2 separate regions of the Homo sapiens genome follow, and region 2 is linked to region 1. The links are contacts of gene promoters, found by promoter capture Hi-C in blood cells and fetal thymus (Javierre and others, 2016). All regions are on one chromosome and are shown on one strand. The core of a region is centred on a gene start or on the middle of the fragment in contact, and the rest is flanking DNA. Distances in the headings are between cores, read along the strand shown. Region 1 holds the start of CHRNA2 (cholinergic receptor nicotinic alpha 2 subunit). Region 2 has its middle 160 kb from the start of DPYSL2.

Region 1 (3,683 bases), core at 893-3,392:
TAGCTCAGAGCCCACCAAGATTATTCCAACTATCTCATCGCAAGCTGCTTCCTTGCACTGCCCTGGTTTTCCCGGGGAAACCTCATAAAGGCTCGGGGCCAGGCTTCCCACATTGTGCCCTCCACCTCCTGACACTCCCTGGTGCTGCTCTGTGTGGCCCTGCGGGAATGTGCCACCCCTCCTGTTTCTAGGGATCTGTGAGTATAAACTCCTTCCTTTATGACAGTCACTTCTGTGTCTGCATGTCTTACCAAACCTGATTAAAACAAATTCTGGGTGAAAATTTTAGGACAATTAGATGTAAACATTTTTTTTCAAAGTGTGATGATGGAAAGTCGAGTGTGCACTGATGTTAGGAGCCAAAGAGCTAGATTTCGTGTGGCGGGGAGGGGGGTGCTTTCCAGCATTGAAACAACTTTCAAATATTTCAGGAATGTCCCCCCTCTTGAAGTGGGCAGAGCCCACCTTCCACATAGAAGCTCAAAACCCCAGATTCCTGCTTCCTTGGCCTTCCTGGCATCTGGTTTGGGAGCACATGCTTTAATCAGATGCATCTGTTTCGACCTTTGTATGCAGAGCTAGTGACACAAAGGAGCAGGGCTGGAGGAGAATTAACTGTGGCAGCGGTGGCAGCAGCAGGGATGGCTGCTTCCAGGGACAGCGGTGACAGCGGCACCCATGACGGTGCCAGGTTCACATGCAGCTCTGTAGCAGCAGGACCCACCATGCTGGCCGCGGGGCAGAGGCTTCCCTCTTCTCCCTGCTCTCCAAGCAGCCCCTCCAGATTTCTAGGTGCTTCTGTGAACCACCCGTTGTTCCTCAATAAAACCATTCTCCACTTAAAGTAATTGGTAGGTTTTTATTGCTTGCAACCAAGAATCCTGATGGATACAAGCTGTGATTTTCTTTTCTTTTCTTTCCTTTCCTTTCCTTTCTTTTCTTTTTTCTTATTTCTTCCCTCCTTCCCTTCCTTCCTTCCTTCAGTCTCCAAATGAAAAATGTATACATCTAACTTTATATATATGTAAATATGGTAAAATATTAACATTTATTAATTATGAATAGTGGAAATATGAGTGTTTATGGTTTTTTGGTATTTTATGTCTTTTAATTCTCTCAAAAGATGATTCTAGCAATCGCATGCACATGTGTACACACAATGCACGTGTGTGTTTGTGTTTATTTGTGCTAATTGACTCCTCATAGTAAACCTATGAGGCAGGAGCCATTGTTCACATCCTCTTTTTACATCTGAGGAAACTGAGGCATAGGAAGCTGAAGAGGCCTGTCCAGGATTATGCAGCTGTTCAAGAGCAGAGCTAGAAATTCAGCCTCAGCAGTCTGTGGCCGGGTCATGTCCAGGGCCTTTGCTTTTAACAAAATAAGGGAGATGAGCTAGCAAGTAGCTTGAGGGAAAGGCCGAAAGCAGAGTGTTTTTAGGGTGGAGGATGAGCTTCTTTAGGGGCTGAAGGGAAGGAACGAGTGGGGCAGAGAGGGAGGATCTGAGAAAGCCCAGGCTGTTAATAGATGGGGTGATGTCAAGATCACAGTGGGCCAGGATTCGCCATGCACAGGAGGAGACAGGAGTACTCATCTGATACTAGAGAAAAGGAGGCTTCACCGGAAAATCAAAGGCAAGGTCACCTGCAAGGAGGCTGACGGGGTGACAGAGAAGCAGCCACACCGGGTGGCCGCGCAAGTGACCGGTGGTCCTCTAGGGTGGTGGGGGGAGGGGTCTCACAGGGGAGGAGGGCAAGGAGAGAACCGTGGGCTGGCTGGCAGCTCTGTCCTTACTCCAATTTTTCCGATGCTATTTACTGACTTAGAAGGTAAATACATTCCAAGGTTCTTCAAGTTCTTTACAGCTGGGCTTGTTCCAAGGCTGGAATTTGTGAAGTGGATTCACATACAGTGAAGCTGTATTGACAGACAGACCCAGGACCCAGGACCCAGAACCTGTGGGTGCACTCAGGGGCCCCAGGCAGTGATCCTGGAGCCCAGGGGTCCAGAGAGCAGGGAAGGGAGCATCGTGGTGACTGGACAGAGCTGCATCTGTCCCCACCGGACATAGGCTGGAGAGTCACAGGCTCCTCCTCCTTCCCCTCCAGAGAGGCTGTGTGTGTGTGTGTGTGTGTGTATGTGTGTGTGTGTGTGAGAGAGAGAGAGAACAGCGTGAGCCTGTGTGCTTGTGTGCTGAGCCCTCATCCCCTCCTGGGGCCAGGCTTGGGTTTCACCTGCAGAATCGCTTGTGCTGGGCTGCCTGGGCTGTCCTCAGTGGCACCTGCATGAAGCCGTTCTGGCTGCCAGAGCTGGACAGCCCCAGGAAAACCCACCTCTCTGCAGAGCTTGCCCAGCTGTCCCCGGGAAGCCAAATGCCTCTCATGTAAGTCTTCTGCTCGACGGGGTGTCTCCTAAACCCTCACTCTTCAGCCTCTGTTTGACCATGAAATGAAGTGACTGAGCTCTATTCTGTACCTGCCACTCTATTTCTGGGGTGACTTTTGTCAGCTGCCCAGAATCTCCAAGCCAGGCTGGTTCTCTGCATCCTTTCAATGACCTGTTTTCTTCTGTAACCACAGGTAAGAAAGGTACCCAAGGCTTATGTTGAGGGCGGCATGCATGTGGAGAGCTTGTGGATATGGGGTCAAAGAAATACTAGCAGTTTCTGGGTACTCAGGAGGGGGTTATGTCTGAATGCTGGATGTCACCTGCTCCTAGAAATATTTTAGTCTCCTGGTTGTCCCTGCTGGAGCTGTCCACAGCCAGGTGACGATGAACACCTCCTGGCTAGGATGGCTAGCCCAGTCTCAGGAATAGTGGCTTTGTTACACTGTATCTGCTCCTATGTCTTTACTACTGCTGTCCATTCTTTTGTTCATTTATTTACTCATTCTGTAAATTGTCTATGTCCTTTAAAAGGGCTAAAAGACAGCAATGCTATTTACTGACTTAGAAGGTAAATACCTTCCAAGGTTCTTCAAGTTCTTTACAGCTGGGCTTGTTCCAAGGCTGGCATTTGTGAAGTGGATTCCTCCATCAGCTGGTGTGGTTGTTCAGATGACCTTCAAGATCCCACCCAACCTTGAGTGTTAAACTTCTGTGATTGAGCAAAACAGATATAAAAGCTAGAATTACACTCTCTAGCCCCTAAGCACCTTGAGTGCATTTATTTGGAAGAAGAAATCATACTGGTTTCTCTAATGGAGGGGCTTCTTTGGGAGTGTAATGTTGCCAGTTGTGAAAAAGCTGAGACCTGTATGCTTGGGGAGGTTCTGGACAGCAGAAAGGAACCAGGTGGGATGGAAGCAGCCTTTTGGGAGAAGGAAATGTTAGTAAAAAGAGGAGAATGTGGACTGGTGGGTGAGAAGTTGAAAACAGAATTAGTAGAACCATGGACAGGGAAGTGAGCTCAAATCACCTTGACCTCCACGGAACCAGGATTCAGGCAGGCTAGAGATGCTGCAGTGAGTGTGGGGGTGGGGTGGGGGTGGCCTGGAACTGGTGTACGTGAGCAGCGACACAAGCCCAGTGGGGACACTGATGTCCGAGCACTTTACGTATGCAATCTCTTTTACATAGGCTTCTCTGTGTACCCCATTCACCCAGACCCACTTTACAATTAGGGACCTCATCCCACTCTCTCCCCTTCCCCAAATCTGCCAATCCAGCCACTTAGAGGGTCA
Region 2 (3,467 bases), core at 622-3,121, 810 kb after region 1:
CTAACTCCCCAAGTGCTTCATACCCATTTGACCTATATCACATTGTTTCCACAGAGCATCTCCCCAGACTGGCATTTTATAGAAATTTGCTTTGGAATATGTTACAGGGATGGTCTCCCAACAATGTGGAAAACCAAATAATGATGCTGCTGGCTCCACTTTGACACTGTCCTAAAATTTCAGATCCAGTCATTCTCAGCTAATAGGCTGGTATGGCTTGATATAACAAGTAGATGAATAATCACTGTGGACATTAGGATATTTCAAGAACTCCATCAACCAACTTGGCCTACCGACATTTATAGAACCCTCCATTCCCTCTCAGCAGAATACTCATTTTTCTCAAGTGCATTTGGAACATTTTTCAAGATGGATCATATTTAGGCTCATAAAATATGTCTCCATAAATTTAAGGTTATTTAAGTTCACACCATGTAAGTTCTCTAACTACAATGACTTTAAGTTAGAAGTCAGTAACAGAAAAATCTCTGGATCATTCCCAAATACTTCGAAGCTTAATAGCATATTCCTCAATAACTCATGGGTAAAAAGAAAATGAATACGGTAACTTCAGTGAAACTTATAGCACTAAATGCCTTCATTGGAAAAGAAAAAATACATCAGATTCCACTTCAGAAAACTAGAAAAAGGAGAGCAAATTAAATTCGTCCTAAATAGAAGAAAAGAAATTATGAAAATCAGAGTGAAGTATCAATTAAATGCAAAACAGTAAAACAATAGAGAAAATCAACTAAACTATTAGCTAGTTTTTTCAGATCAATGAAATTGATAAACTAACCATTGTGATAAGGAGAAAAAGGGAGATGATGCAAATTACTAACATTGGGAAAGAGAGGATGACATCACTGAAAATTCTATTAATATTAAGAAGATAATAAGGAAATATGATTAACAATTCTATGCCAATAAATTCAACAACTCAGACGAAATGGACAAATTCCATGGAAGACACAAACTACCAAAGCTTACTCAAGAAGAAACAGATAAACTAAATAGCCCTATGCCTATTAAAGAAATTGAATTTGTAGTTTAAAAACATTCCCACAGAGAGAACTCTAGGTCCAAATGGTTTCAATGGTCAATTCAACCAGTCAAGCAGTTAAGGAGGAAATAATACATTGAATACATTCTTGCATTAAATTAAAAAAGAAAGAACACATCCCAAATCATTATAGGAAGCCAATATTATGCTGATACTTTACTTTTTAAATATGTTCTTACATTTAACATACATTACTTTTCTTTTGTTTTAAATCGTTATTTTAAAAAGCTTGTTTGGTCTATGTTCCATTCACCTAAGGTGCTAAGTCTTAATTAGTACAGATAAATGAATCAGCATGAATAGTATATAGGCAGCTAATATATTACCTATTTCGGGTATCATAATACCTGTAATCCCAGCTACTCAGGAGGCTGAGGCAGGGGGATCCCTTGAGTCCTTGTGGTTTATAGTTCATCACAACACTGATCAGATGAAATAACACAAATGCAGTGACAGTGCTGAGCCTCATTCCCCATACATCCAGTGTGATACGAAAGCCAGGCTTGGGTACGAGAGCCAAATTCAGGGACAGGAGGGAAGGAGATAAAGAATGGTCACAAATTTGACCAGTCACTGGTAATTTACAGTGCCTCTGTTGACAGAGAGAGAGAGAAAGGGAGAGAAAGAAAGAGAGAGAGAGTAACTACAGGATTTTAACATGAAGCACCGAAACAGGCTGCAAGAGGGAATGAAAGCCTGACTCCTATTGCATCTGGTTAGCTAATTTGACAACGCTGCAAACTGTGAAGTCCTCATTAGGGAAAAAGTCAGGCTGGTGGGAGCAGGGGAAAGCAAAAAGAAGCAAACAAGCTACAAGTCTGCCTTTCTTCATGGTCCAGGACACACAGCCCTCCTGTGTAAATAACTCACAATCTTCCTGCGCCCGACTTATACCACCAGACACCTGCAAGCTCGCTCCCTGCAGCCTCGGCGTGATCGTAGTGTACATAGCCCACTCCAGCACAGTACCATCCTATGAAAGCCCCAGCAAGCCTTTGTCTCCTTGCAGTCAGCTCTGCCACACAAACGCTATCTGAACACAGGGCGCCTCTATCAGGAAAACCAATTTACTTAATAAGGGGATCTGAGATTTTGGCCCCTAATAATCAACTTTTTTAGTGTCTCTTGCTAAATCTACACACCATTATGTTTAATACGTAGCTTTCTAAACTCAGAGTCACCTGTTGGTCTCCTCATGGACCGAATGCAGGTCCACATCCAGATACAGCTGGCTGGGTGCTTGCTTAGGAACAGATACTGCATTCTGTCCTTTTCTTGCTTAGGAACGGAAGTTGCATTTTGTCTTCTTGAGAACTTGCTCTCGCACAGCTTGTACACTACTGCCACCTACTGGACAAACTAAGCTAAGCCGCCAGAGGTAAGCTTTCCACAGCTGTCATTCCAAATTACCTGACAAATACTTTGTCAACCAAGACTACCATTAATTAGGTCACCATATTATCCTAACTACTGTCATCTAGGAGGAAAGGGGCAAGAGCAGGCTTTATTTCCACTTATGAAAGTAGAATTAAATATTGAAAGGCAACCAGGCCAATGACTGTTTTTCTAAATAAGGACCTGAAGGACAGAATACTCATTTGGGAATGGCTGGAACCCTCATGGCAGGGTGGGGCGTGGAGGGGAAGATGGAGAACAAGGAATGAGGGAGAGAAAGAGCAATAATAATCCCAATGGAGTAGCCCTCCATGAACTTTATAACATTTCAATAAGATCAGATGTGCAAATAAGCCACTAAAAACTGATAGAACGCACTATCACTATCAGCTCATCAGGGAATGAACAGCAGGTCCACACACACCTTGGTCCTCAAACAGTTTACATAAAAAGCTGACGTTCAAGGACCAGATCAGTGCCCTTGGAGATGAACTAGGCCCAAGACACATATGGAACGGGCCTGTGGGTCATCGTGCTGCAGTTTCAGACTTCCCTGTTTTTGTCTTTATTCAATTTCACGAAGGCTTGAGAACTCTTTGGGAAGTCTTTTTCATCCCCACAGTTAGCTGCATCCTCCTAATTATGTATCTATGGTTTATAGCTTATCACAACACTTATCAGAATTTTTTTGAGACAGTCTCAAATTTATGAATTTATCAATGAAACACTGAGGACAATTGAGTCAGGAGCTGAGGCCATGAGCCAGGGAGCCCTCAAATGCAGCTAGAATCCATGGAGCCTGGCGTAGATAAGTGCAACACTTTGGGAATCTATTCCCCATTTTTCATAAGATGAAAGTGTTAAGATCATCATCTAGTGGGGGGACACTTGGACCTTGTACATAATTTTGTAATTAATCTGAAGATGAAACCGCCTTTGCAAAAATCGTATCAGTGATAAAACTGTGCCAATGAGGGAAATCTGATCTAGCCAGCCCCCCTCTTGCCTT

The links. The method cuts DNA at HindIII sites, captures the fragments that hold promoters and counts their contacts. A CHiCAGO score of 5 or more calls a contact.
Region 2: a contact is called between a fragment that was not itself captured here and the fragment with the promoter of CHRNA2 in region 1, in 3 of 17 cell types (M2 macrophages, erythroblasts and naive B cells). The highest score is 8.4, in M2 macrophages.

What each region holds. Positions count from the first base shown.
Region 1 is chr8:27,477,720-27,481,402 of GRCh38, reverse strand. It overlaps CHRNA2 (cholinergic receptor nicotinic alpha 2 subunit), which reads left to right and starts at 2,142. Exons shown (of 7, transcript NM_000742.4): 1 at 2,142-2,579. The HindIII fragment of the contact is 14,056 bases long and covers 1-3,683 here.
Region 2 is chr8:26,669,652-26,673,118 of GRCh38, reverse strand. No RefSeq gene overlaps it. Among named protein-coding and RNA genes, the nearest start is that of DPYSL2, 160 kb to the right of the region's middle. The HindIII fragment of the contact is 1,155 bases long and covers 1,294-2,448 here.